Linked DNA regions of Homo sapiens: region 2 is linked to region 1. Evidence: promoter capture Hi-C in 16 types of primary human blood cells and fetal thymus (Javierre and others, 2016). All regions are on one chromosome and are shown on one strand. Each heading gives the region's core, a stretch centred on a gene start or on the middle of the fragment in contact. The rest is flanking DNA. Distances are from core to core; before and after follow the strand shown. Region 1 holds the start of LINC01827 (long intergenic non-protein coding RNA 1827). Region 2 has its middle 8.1 kb from the start of SLC39A10.

Region 1 (6,933 bases), core at 1,976-4,475:
CAGTGGTTTGGGAGAACATTCAGTGCAGAAATCTTTGTATTCTCTAAAACTGGGAGACCTTTTTATAGACTCACACAATGAAATACATTTAGCACTAGAAGGGATCTCAAAATCATCTATTACAGGCCTATTGTTTTATCAGATAAAATTTCCATGATATAATTTTTTTCTAAATATGTATATTTTGGATAAAGTAATATAAGCATATAGTTCAAATGTCAAAAGGTACAAAACACTGAACAGTGAAAAATAAATGTCTCCCACTCCTAGTCACCCAGTTAGCATCTTTGGAGGAAACCACTGTCACCAGAGATAGTCTATGCGTGCTATGATATCCTTTCAGCAAGAGCTTCAGACCTAGCAAGACCAGAGAGGTCATAAATTAATTGTATTTGGAATTATCATAAAGTAATAGTAGACCTTTTAACTTCAATCTCAACTCTCATTACTTACTAACTTGAACAAGTTAATTAATGTCTCTTCCTCAATTTCCTCATCTGTATGATAGAACTAATGATACCCACCAGTCAGGATTGTCAGGATTATGTGAGGTAATGTACCAAAGTCCCAGATACATACCTTAATTTTGACTATGGGAAAATATAATCTTTTTTTTTTTCTTAAATCTATCTGCATTCTAAATGTAGAGGACACAGTTTCATTAAGGTAGGAATGAGGATAACTATACAAAATATATAATAAGGAAAAATATGGTATGATGTCTGTTTGCATAGCACTATCAGTTTATTTTTCCCAGCCTTGATGAAGTTGATTGGCTTCTTCCTTAATCACTTTCATTTCATTAATAGTTGTCTTTCATCTTCTCCAAGAGCACATCACACAACCTGAAAGTCAGAGGTCTCCCTGAAATCCACTACTTTCGAAGATTGTATGCTGATCATATTACTGAGAGAGTTCAAGAGGAGGGAACTTATCACTTAATAAATTTCGGTGATGCAACTAATGTGTCCTAGGCATTCTGCTAGGTGGTACAGAACCAAGCAAAACACAATGGACAAGATGGTACTAACGACTGTTCTACTTAGGGAGCCAGGAAATTCAAGGGATTGCTTTGTCTCCTAAGACCTAGAAAATCATTAATCTCACTCAAATTTAAGAGTTCAGTTACAAGTAAAAGGAAATCCAATCAAACAACTTAAACAACCAAGGGAATGTATTGGCCGATGTGACTGACGAACCAAAAACTGGGCAGATTTTAACAAAACCAGTAGTCCCATAATGTCAATAAAGACCTGCTTTCTTTCCACTGCTGCACTCTATCTCCTGTGAAGCAGTTTTCGTCTTAGGCTGCGTCTTCTAGTGTAGTCAGAAGCAACCACAGTTACATGCTTCCTAGTTCATATCTACAAAAGCAGAGAGTACCTTTGAAGCAACTCCCATGGATCAGACAAGAATTTTCTTTTCCAAAAACTTCAGCAATTGGCTGGCAGTGGTGACTCAGGCCTTTCACCCTAGCACTTTGGGAGGCTGAAGTGGGCAGAACACTTGAGCTCAGGAGTTAGAGACCAACCTGGGCAACATAGGGAGACCCTATATCTACAAAACATCAAAAAAATTAGCCGGGTATGGTGGCCCCCTCCTGTGGTCCCAACTTCTTGGGAGGCTGAGGTGGGAGGACCACTTGAGCCCAGGAGATCGAAACTGCACTGAGCCATGATCCCGCCATTGCCCGTCAGCCTGGATGACAGAGCGAAACCCAGTCTCAAAAACAAAAAAAAAAAAACAAACAAAACTCCAGCAACTGTCTCCTTTATTGTCCATTAATGGTTCACATGCCTACTCTGAATCAGTCACATGGACAGAATGATGTAATAATGCTGATTAGTGTAAGACAAACAGGTTCTCTGGAGGTGGGCAATCCAGCCCAAGCCATGCTCAAAAACATACTGTTTGTTTAAAGTAGAAAAGGCTCTGGATGGTGAGAAGGGATTTTACAAATGTCAGTGTAAGCTCTTGCTACTGCTTCTCTCTGCATGTCTATTCTAGGTTGCTCTTGTAGGCTGGCTCCACATGTAAGGATTTTACTTTGGGTTCCCTCATAATTTAATGTTCATGTAGCTGAAGCTTGCCATAGAGGTCTCACACTAAATACCTGTGACCCGACAACTCCAATTCTCATCACTTAACTATGACTTTTGTGTCTCAGTGAAATTTTTTCAAACAATATCATCTAGTTGGCTTGGCCTAACCTATGGATCGACTCTCAGAGTAGGTCTCCCCACCCTGGTCCAATCATCATAACCAGGGAGTAGGGTCATATGATATAAACATAGATGACTAGGCCCATCTGTTCAGCAGGGGAACAGATTCTTTTAGAAGGGAATGTGGGCAGAAAGGCAATTATATACATCTCTAACCAGAAAAATCCCAGGGGTGGAAATGATAGGAAGAAATGGCACCAAATTTAAAGATAAAAGAAAAGCTGCCACTGTAATTCAAAATTAGACAATGTAACTGATCATAGACTTTTGCTATAATCGCTATTTTGGCCTTATAATCTCTGAAATTTACTTTACAGAACAGTGAAACACTTCTTTGAGGAGAAACATTATAGAAGAAAACAATCTTTGATCTAGAAACCTAAAAAGATATTTATGCTCATTATATTCCAGGTGCTGAAGAGTGTCAAAGCACAGCTAAATATTATGCCATTTGTGCAGACTCGGAATGAGTTTAAGCACTGAAAGAGCTACCAGAATACCCCAGCAGAACATCTCAAAACAAAGCATTATTTCTCTCTTAAGAAAATTACCAGGCTGGGCACGGTGGCTCACACCTGTAATCTCAGCACTTTGGGAGGACGAGGCAGGCGGATCTACCTGAGGTGAGGGGTTCGAGACCAGCCTGCCCAATGCGGTGAAACCCCGTCTCTACTAAAACTAAAAAAAATAGCTGGGTGTGGTGGCGGGCACCTGTAATCCCAGCTACTCAGGAGGCTGAAGCAGGGAGAATTGCAGTGAGCCGGATTGCACCACTGCACTCCAGCCTGGGCGACAGAGTGAGACTCCATCTCAAAAAAAAAAAGGGAAAATTACCTATTTGCACTTCTTGATTTCCAGGAAGGTGTTAGAGATCTTCATCCCATCCCCAGCCCAAGTCTAGACGTGTTCACCGGAAAGGAAGAAGTTTTTGAGTTCTCAGCAGTAGCTGTGGCTCTAAGGAAAGCAGTGTTGTATGGGTATTAGAGTAGTACAACCAAAGCTCTGCTGGAACAAAAGAGGAACACAGAAAGCTAGGAATGACAAGTGTTTTTCTTCCCTCTCATATGATTCAGTCAGGCTGTCTTTGACCTACATAGCCATCTGACTGGCCACTGTTTTCTTTTCTTTCTTTTCTTTTTTTAGAGATGGGATCTTGCTGTGTTGCCCAGGCTGGACTGAAACTCCTGGGTTCCAGTGATGCTCTCTCCTGAGCTTCCCGAGCAGCTGGGACCACAGGCATACACCACTGCACTGCACTGCACTTGATTAGGTATATTTTAAAATGTAAAATAATAGTGAAAGGATTCTCCCTAGTCCCCATAAACCTGGGAATGGATCGAGGTGAGGACACCAAAACTTTCCCCTGAGACATGGAAATTGCACTGAATGTTTCTTGATGGTTCTAATGCATTAAGAATTAAGAGCTCTTTGCCTAGATTACCCCCAAAATATTAAAAATAACAAAACAAAGTAGAACTAAGGAAAAATATAAGACACATAGAGAAAATGTTTTTCAAAAAATGTTATTTGACCTATGGCTAATTCTGATTTTAAAAGCAGTTAAACAAACGAAACACAACCTAGTGATGCTTACGACTGAAGAAACCATTGATACCTGAAAGAAGGGAAGACTTTAGATATAAAGGCAGAGTGGAATTTTTTTAACCAACATTTCATGCAGCAGCTCCACATGGCCTTCCCATGTCTCAATAGCTTTGATTTGTGGAAATAATGGTTATGCAATTTCCACATATTGTGCTCCAATCACAGCATGTAAGCAACAATAAAAAGAAAACAACTAAATGTACTTGAAGCTGGAGATTTTGATAAGGTTTTCTTTTCACTTCACAAAGTTTGTTAACTGGATATTTTTCTAAGGCAACTGAAATATTCCTGCTGAGTTTCAGACAGATATATGTAAAAGCAGCAAAGTGTCTGATTTTCTTAAATGTATCTATGGCAGCAACACTAGTTAATTTAGTTGTGAAAAAATAACCAAAAAGAAACTATCGGACTATAAGAATTCCACAGTTGGCAGACTGTTGGTATTTCTCTTTCTCTTTAAATATATATATAAATATATCTATAAATATATATAAATATCTATAAATATATCTATAAATATATATATTAAATATATATATGCCATCTGTTTACAAAAGATGAGAAATGTTGGAGAAAATTATTTCCCTTAGGGTATAATGTTATGGCCATTCAGAGAGAGGTCTCTGGTATTTTCAAGGAGAATTTGGTACAAGAACAAGACAGCATCAGGTCTGCACAGTCATTGGCTGCAAAAAACAAAGATGATTTCCTTTAGTCCCTGTTTTAGTTTTACTCTTTGAACTTCCAAGTTTATTTATTGTTATTATTTTTAATGTGGCACAGATTGTTTTAAGAATCAACTTGGTTCCCTTTTTTGAAGTCCTTTTTTTTTTTTAATTTGTTGAGACTGGTTTCTAAAGTGCTCCACCTCCACCACCTGTCATTAGATGGGGGGCTGCGGCTTGGAGAACACTCACAGTTCTGAGTTCAGCTGTGGACGGAATAATGAAGGGCAGCTGCAGAAGGAGGTAGAGCTGCAGATTCAGAGGTAGGTGGCAATACAGTATTTCAAAATAAAAACTACCAAGCTTCAGATCGGTGATAAATTGTCATGCACTAAGTGTACCTGGAGAAATAAAACTAATCTCTATCCATTTTAATTCTCTCAGAAGGACTTTCCCTCTTACATATAAAATCCTGGGAATTTCCCCCTCCTCATCCAGTCATTTCTATGTGATTAATCATACATTGGTTACTCGTCACTAGATGGCATTGTGCAATGTTTCTTGACAGCAGTAACTAAATTGGTAAAGTTACAGCTTGGGCTATTTTTTGGTATTTTCTTCTTTGGGATGGATCTAGAGGATCTAAATCTGATCCTGGATATGTCATCATCTTTATATGTTTTATGAGTATGGCTTTGTAAAATTTGTGTCTTCTTTGAGAGTCTTTTTCTTAGTATAACTTCCTAGTACATGAACCCAATAATTATCAGTCTTAAATGAACAATAAATAAATTCTTCCTCTAATTTTCCTCCAAGTCACATGTACAAATGTTTACTTACATTTGCAGAAATAAAATAAAGCTCAACATATCTAGGATCTCTACCTAGGCATGAAGGTAGAAAAAAATATATATGGAAATTTGCTTTATCTAAGCATGGCCAGTTGAAATCAAGCTGTGGATAAGCCATGAAGATAGAGTAATATAAAAAGATCAGTTAATGCTTTCATAAACCTGTGAAATTCACAAAGGAAATATAATAGCCATAAGTAAGTAAAACTGATATAAATGTGTTATGAATTAGTAGTCACAGTCTTGTACTTTTCCAGACATGACAAATAATTGTGACCATTTTTATTTGTTGTGTTCCCATAAACCTTATGGTGCTGAAGAATAAATTCTAATTTCTGTGCTATCAATAAAATAGGACACATTTTCCCAAGTTATAATTATGACTTAGTGACCTGAGAATTTGTAAATAACAATGGATGATAAAATTAATTATTTGGAATGAAGCTAACAAGATAAATGACAGATAGATAGATAGATAGATAGATAGATAGATAGATAGATAGATATGGTAGATAAATGCATAGCAGCTAATACAGCATTTGACATTCTGAAGTTATATAAAAACTATAATATTGATCTGCTGTTTTCATTTACTTATTTTAAAATCTGAAAAATTGTTTCTCTTTTTTAATTTGCCTTTTTATTTTAATTTCATTCATTTGTCCATTCAAAAACATTAACCAAACACCAGCTTTGGATCTGTTCAATACCAGAGATGCAAAGATAAGTAGGATACCAAATGTGCCCTCAAAAAGCCTTTAGTCTTTTATGTTAAGCATCCATAAAGTAACTATCAGAATCATTCATGAAAGAAGGAGCAAGGGGGAATGAAAGAGGGAGATATGTAATGCAAAGAGTCTTAGAAAAGGAAACAAGATGCAGGCCGGGTGTGGTGGCTCACACCTGCAATCCCAGCACTTTAGGAGGCCGAGACAGGAGGATTGCTTGAGTCCAGGAGTTTGAAACCAGTGTGGGCAACATAGCGAGATCCTGTCTCAAAAAAAGAACAAAGCAAAAAAGATGCATGGTTTATGGTCACAGCTCTAACAGTAACTCATGCTATAACCCTGGACCTCCCTCATTGTATGTTCAAATGAAATAATTTTATAGAAAAGTGCTTTGTAAACTGTAAAATGTTTTTAAAATACTAGTTTTTAAAGCTTTTTCATATAAGAAACCCACTTTTTTTTTAATAGAACTTTGATCCTTCAGGCCAATGCAGCTCCCTTTTAATTTTCTGTTTCAAAATTCCAGCTGCATACATAAAATCCATTAAATTTCCAACTCATCTTGTAAAACAAAAATTGGACAGAAGCACCACAATCTTGGAGAGAGAAAAGGCAAAAGGCTAACCTAAATGCCCAGTGATCACATCAAACTCTAAAACACTGAGATGCTCTGATTGTCCCCTTTCCCCCTTCTACTCTGCTGATTCTTGCTCTTTCTCTTAGTTTCTGCAGGTGAGAAACGTAATTTCAAGTAAATCTGTTACAATAAAACATGACAGATGAAAGACCCCCATTCTGGTCCTAGGCCATTACCTCTTCCACGCTTTGATGGTAGAAAAAAAACAAAAAGCGTTTGAATGGA
Region 2 (6,342 bases), core at 361-2,860, 73 kb after region 1:
GTTTTTGAGATGGGGTCTCACTCTGTGTCAAAAAAAAGGCTGGAGTGCAGTGGCACAATCACAGCTCACTGCAGCCTTGACCTCCAGGCTCAAGCGATCTTCCCACCTCAGCTCCTGAGTAGCTGGGACTACAAGCGTGCACCACCATGCCTGGCTAATTTTTGAATTTTTTGTAGAGATGGGATTTTGCCGTGTTGCCCAGGCTGGTCTTGAACTCCTGGCCTCAAGCGATCCGCCCACCTCAGCCTCCCAAAGTGTTGGGATTACAGATGTGAGCCAGCACACTCAACAATTCTTTTTATTTTATTTTTTTATTTACTTAAGCGTACCCTGATGTGCCCAGCAATTCTATCTTCTTGAAACTTCTGCAGTTCAACAATTTCTCTTTATCCACTGTCACTTCTCACATGGGTTGTCCCTATCACAGTTTCCTAATTGTTTTAATTTCCTATTGCTGCTATAACACATTACCACATATGTGGTGGCTTCAAACAATACAAATTTGTTATGCAGCTCTGTAGGTCTGACACGAATTTCACTGAGCCAAAACCAGGGTGTCAGCAGGGCCACGTTTCTTCTGGAGGCTCTAAGGAGGAATCCATTTCCTGTTTTTCTAGCTTTAGAGGCTACCCACATTCCTTAGTTCAGGGGTCCTCACCCCCCACCCACCTCCCCCCACCACCAACCCCCTACAGACCCGGTAAGGCCGGTAGGGCCTTTTAGGAACACTGCTGCACAGCAGGAGGTGAGCGGAGGGTGAGCGAGCATTACCGCCTGAGCTTTGCCTCCTATCAGATAAGCAGCAGCATTAAATTCTCATGGGAGCACGAACCCTATGGTGAACCGTGCCTGTGAGGGATCTAGGTTGCACACTGCTTATGAGAATCTAATGCCTGATCATCTCAGGTGGAGCAGTTTCATCCCGAAGCCATCCCCCTGCCATCTGTGGAAAAAGTGTCTTCTAGGAGACTGGTCCCTGGCGCCAAAAAGGTTGGGGGACTGCTGCCTTAGCTTGTGGCTCCCTTTATTCAGCATCATTTTATCTCTCTGAGTGTCATTTCTCTTTATCTTCCTCTGACTCTCCTCTTCTTCCCTCTTCCATTTTTAGAGTCTCTTATGATTAAATCGGGCCCATTTGGATAATTGAAACTAATTTGTTCATTTCGAGGTCAGTTGGTTAGCAACTTTAATTCCATCTCCAGCCTTTGTACCCTTTGCCATGTAATCTACATGTTCATAGGATCCAGGGATTAGCATGTGGATGTCTTTATGGGGGAGGCATTATTCTGTCTACCACCCTAGTCGTATGATAATATGATTTCCCTTCTTGCCCATGATCACGTCACTTGCCCACCGAAAATTCTTCAATGGCCCTTGTTGCCCTCAGGGTAGCATTCAGACTCATTCAGGCTCCTTAATGTGATACACAAAGGCCTTCCTTACCAGTCCTGTCTCATCTCTCCCAACTCCCCATGCCCAAAACACACAACAAGATTGTGTGTTTCACTTCCCCAAACTGAAAACCAGGCATTCACTCATCTCATTCATCTGCTTGTTTGCTCTTTTCCCAGCCTTTTATCTGACTCTACTACTCATCCATAAGTCAGACTTCAGATGTGACTTCCTTTGGGAAGCCTGAGTGTATCCCCAAATTTTGGCCTTTGCTACCGTTGCAAGCTATACCTATATCTAACATAGCACTTGCCATGCGATACTGTAATTATCTCTTTAATTACCATCCACCACCACCACCACCACCACCACCACGAGACTACAGGCAACTTAAGGGTCAGCCTCTCATTTGTTCACCCTTGTATCAGTTACTTATCAGAGTGGCTTGCACACAATAAAAACACAAACTTTCTATTTTTTAAAGCAACCCTATTAACTGAGAAGCACAAACTTTTGCTTAAAGATATATCCCTTAATATTTATGTGTCTCTTTTTCCAAGACAGACTTATAGAGGATGTAGAGTCATATAAATCTAAGGACTGAAAAGTAAATGTACCTTTAATCCTCCAAATGGATTTCATTTAATTAATGAATTAATTTACTGAGGCAAGGTCCCACTCTGTCACCCAGGCTAGAATGCAGTGACAAAATCATGGCTCACTGCAGCCTCCACCTCCTGGGCTCCAGTGATCCTCTTGCTTCACCCTCCCGAGTAGCTGGGACCACAGGTGTGTGACACCATGCCCATCTAATTTTTAAAACAATTTTTTTGTACAGAAGAGGTCTCGCTATGTTGTCCAGACTGGTCTTGAACTCCTGGGCTCAAGCGATCCTCCCATCTTGGCCTCCGCCTATGCTGGAATTATAGGTGAGCTACTGAACTCGGCCCTTATCTGGCTTCTTATATCAAGACTGTGCACAGGTCACTATTTTTGCAAGAATTTCTATACCACTTCCTCTGAAAATGTTGGTAATTTAAAAAAGAAACAGCCAGACATGGTGGCTCACACCTGTAATTCCAACACTTTGGGAGATGGAGGTCGGCCAATTGCTTGAGCCCAGGAGTTCAAGACCAGTCTGGGCAACATGATGAAACTGTGTCTCTACAAAAAATTCAAAAATTAGCCAGGCATGGTGGTGCATGCCTGTGGTCCCAGCTACTCAGGAGGCTGAGGTGGGAGGATCACTTGAGTTTGGGAGGTCGAGGCTGCAGTGAGCCAAGAGATAGTGACACTGTATACTCCAGCCTGGGCAACAGAGCTAGACCCTATCTCAAAAAAACAAAAATAAAAATAGGTTGGATAATGTAAGAGTTAAGAACAGAGACTCTAGAGCCAGCCTGGGATCCTGGCTCTGCCATATTTTATGTAACCATCTCAGTTTTCTTCATTTGTGAAATAGACACAGTAATATCCACCTCAGAGGGTTACTGTAGAATTAAATGAGTTCCATTTAGAGCATTTAAATGGTGCCTGGCACATTTTAAATAATACCGCTTCATGTGGTTAGGGTGGGAAGGAAGATTGTAAAACATAAATGCTTAGAGAAAGCAACTGTCGTTGTAATTAAAATGAAACTTGGGTGTGATGAAATCATTGGAGGCTGTAGGTGAGATCATCTATGAGAAAGAAAAAGCCAAGCATGATGGGTCGCTAACCACCGGGCACTGCCAGAAGCATTTCTCATGAAACATTAGGAAGTTTCCAAATCTTCTCTAAAGACGTGTGCTTGAAAAAACAAAACAAAAAAAGAATGACAACAACAACAAAAAGATATGTGCTGGAAAGAAGAGATGGGATTCTATGAAGAATGTGAAAGTGGCTTATTGTATGAAATACAAAATATAATCCAAGCTTTACCTAGAAATAGTACAAGAAAAATTCAGAAATCCCTGCAAGCTATTCTTGTTTTGACAATTCATTTCTTGCCTTCCCTAATATTTAGAATTTTGCTGCATTGTTGCCATCAAATATTTTTTAAGAAATAAAGGTAAGCAGTATTTGCTAAGACAGAACACGTGTGTCTTGATTTTAGAAGATGTACTTGATTATTTTCATAAATGTCAGGTGTGAAATGGGTCACCTTATTAATTAAAGCCTTAGGCAAAATTTGAAATTTGATCTTATGTGATGACATTTTAAAATGGATGTATTAATTTCAACCAGTTTAACAAATGAGCCTTTTTAAAAAAATTTACGTGGTAACTTATTGTTAATTCATTTCCATGTTGACAGTTTTCCTTAAATTGAAGTGTAATCACCCACAAATACTTTTGAAGTTTGCCATATTCATGTGGATATTTATGCCACTTTTTTCTAATTCCTTTGGACTAGGAGTTATGTTCTGAAAAGTCAATTTCTGCTGTGCCAGTAGAGTTGCAAACGACCTAAAATGGCTACCTACCACACCTGTTTTTCTTCATCTTACTACTCTGTGAGTGAATGAGCTTGCCTGGAAGCAAGATTGAGAAGTTAGCAATTTGTCTACAGTTTTTCTTCTTTCCCTTTGTACCACACTACCCTCAAGAATCTAGACAACCGTGTTTTCTCTTTTCTTAGAACTTCCTCTTTAGAAAAAACCTAAGGAAAATATATTCTCACGGAGGTATAAATAGGTAATACAACTGTAGCAATTTCCCTCCAAGTTCTTCCGGTTTCAAGGCCCAGGGATGAAATGCTAACTGTGTAATTGTAGGAATTGGCAAGTACACTAAAAATACAAAAAATTAGCCGGGCATGGTGGTGGGCAGCTGTAGTCCCAGCTACTCAGGCGGCTGAGGTGGGAAAATGGCATGAACCCGGGAGGCGGAGCTTGCAGTGAGCCGAGATCCCACCACTGCACTCCAGCCTGGGCGACAGAGATGGACTCCTCCTCCAAAAAAAAAAAAAAAAGAAAAGAAAAAAATTGGTTTAGGGTGAGAAGTCTTCATGGCACTATGACGTGGGCAAATGTGTGGTCAACGTGTTAGTCTGGCTCTGGCTCTGAGTTTTTTGCTTTTGTTCATTCTTCTGAGTAGGTCTTTCTCTTTCTCTTGAGCCTGGTCTCATCTGTATTTTCGAAAGGACTTGCCATGGTCAATCAGAGGCTTTAAGCTTCTCTGTTATTGTCTGTCTTCCAGGAGAGATGCCTAATGCTAACACCTTTTATTTGTATTGCCATGGCAATACAAACCCTTAAACTAAGGGTTCTGGTTATTCTTAGGTTAGGATCATGTAGGCAGATCATAAAAAAGTTAATTTTTCTCCCCTGGGTGAGAAGTTGCTTAAATTTTTGTGTCAATTGTTTCATTTCTCCAATCTATTTTTGTCTCTGCAAATAGCCTGAAACTCGGTTTTATTGCACAAGCCTACCAATTCAGAATGATCTCAGGCGCATCAGACAAGTTTGTCCCTCACCAGAGTTGTATTGGTTTATTTCTCCCTGCCTTCGTGTGCCCATCTCAAAATGGTGGGGTCTGTGGAAGAGGATGGCCTTCCCAGATATGCAATTTTTGCTCTTTAGAAAGGAGTTTAAAAAAAAAAAAAATCCCAGCTACTGTGGGTGGGGAAGGCGAAGGAGGTGGGAGGTGGAAGGATTTTGCTTGAGCCTGGGAGGTTGAGTCTGCAGTGAGCTGTGATTGCACCACTGCACTCCAGCCTGGGAGACAGAATGAGACCCCGTCTCAAAAAAAATGTTTTTTTTTTTTTATTTAGAAAGGAGTATAAGGGGAGCTGTGCTCCTCTAGTGAGAACTCCCATGGACTTCTAAAGGCCCATTTATCCTACCTTAGTCTTTAGAGCTTGCCAAAAATGAGATGGTAGAGCCATAATTTCTCAGGGATCAGAAAAAGACTACCGCATGGGTCCAACTTCCCCATTCTGACAGTGTGTTTGCCGTGTTAGATGTTACACAGTGCCACAGGTCTCGAATAATGGAAATAATTTGTATCCTTTAAATATCTCTGGCATCAGTTTTAGAGCTGGAGCTTCAATCCCCAGGCTGAAATAGTCTCTAAAAATGAATAGTAGCTATTAAGTTTGAGGCCTCAGTTTGGAATTTTACCTACATATTGCTGACATCTTCCTTTCCCAAATCTCTTTTTTTTTGAGACAGAGTCTTGCCATGTCACCCAGGCTGGAAAGCAGGGGCATGATCTCGGCTCACTGCAACCTCCATCTCCCAGGATCAAGCGATTCTCCTGCTTCAGCCTCCCAAGTAGCTAGGATTGCAGGCGCTTGCCATCACATCCAGCTAATTTTTGTATTTTTAGTAGAGATGGGTTTTCATCATGTTGGCCAGGCTGGTCTTGAACTCCTGACCTCAAGTGATCCACCCGCTTTGGCCTCCCAAAGTGCTGGGATTACAGGTGTGAGCCACTGCCCATGGCCCCCTTTTCCAAATCTTAACACCTGTTCTGGTACTTAATATCCCCACACCCCACCACATTGGTACAGCAATATAATTTAGTCTTCCTTGTACTCCTAATGACTTCATCAATGAAAAGAGTCAAATTCTGTAACTTATTTGAAGATATTTTTTTCTGAGCCAAACATGAGTGACCAATGGCCTGTCACACAACCCCAGGAAATCCTTAGAATGTGTGCCCAAGGTGGTAGTTAAGCAACAGCTTGGTTTTATACATTTTAGGGAGATATAAGACACAATACATGTACGATGTACATTGGTTTGGTCCAGAAAAGTGGGACAACTGGAAGCAGGGGCTGGTTCCAGGTCTTAGGTGGATTCGAAGATTTTCTGATTGGCAGTTGGTTGAAATAGTTTATCTACAGACCTGGAATCAATATGAGGGAGTGTCTGGGTTAAGATAAGGGGCTATGTAGAACTTGGGGATAAGTAGTCAGAAAAGAAATAAAATTTAGCCTAGGCGTGGTGGCTAACACTTGTAATAC

The links. Contacts are between HindIII fragments. The CHiCAGO score rates a contact against its expected background, and 5 or more counts as called.
Region 2: a contact is called between a fragment that was not itself captured here and the fragment with the promoter of LINC01827 in region 1, in 8 of 17 cell types (M2 macrophages, M1 macrophages, M0 macrophages and 5 more). The highest score is 10.4, in M2 macrophages.

What each region holds. Positions count from the first base shown.
Region 1 is chr2:195,571,268-195,578,200 of GRCh38, forward strand. LINC01827 (long intergenic non-protein coding RNA 1827) reads right to left here and starts at 3,226. Exons shown (of 2, transcript NR_187191.1): 1 at 3,057-3,226. The HindIII fragment of the contact is 2,770 bases long and covers 2,084-4,853 here.
Region 2 is chr2:195,645,955-195,652,296 of GRCh38, forward strand. It overlaps a transcript of SLC39A10 not described here. Among named protein-coding and RNA genes, the nearest start is that of SLC39A10, 8.1 kb to the right of the region's middle. RefSeq lists an enhancer at 4,329-4,408. The HindIII fragment of the contact is 3,387 bases long and covers 1-3,304 here.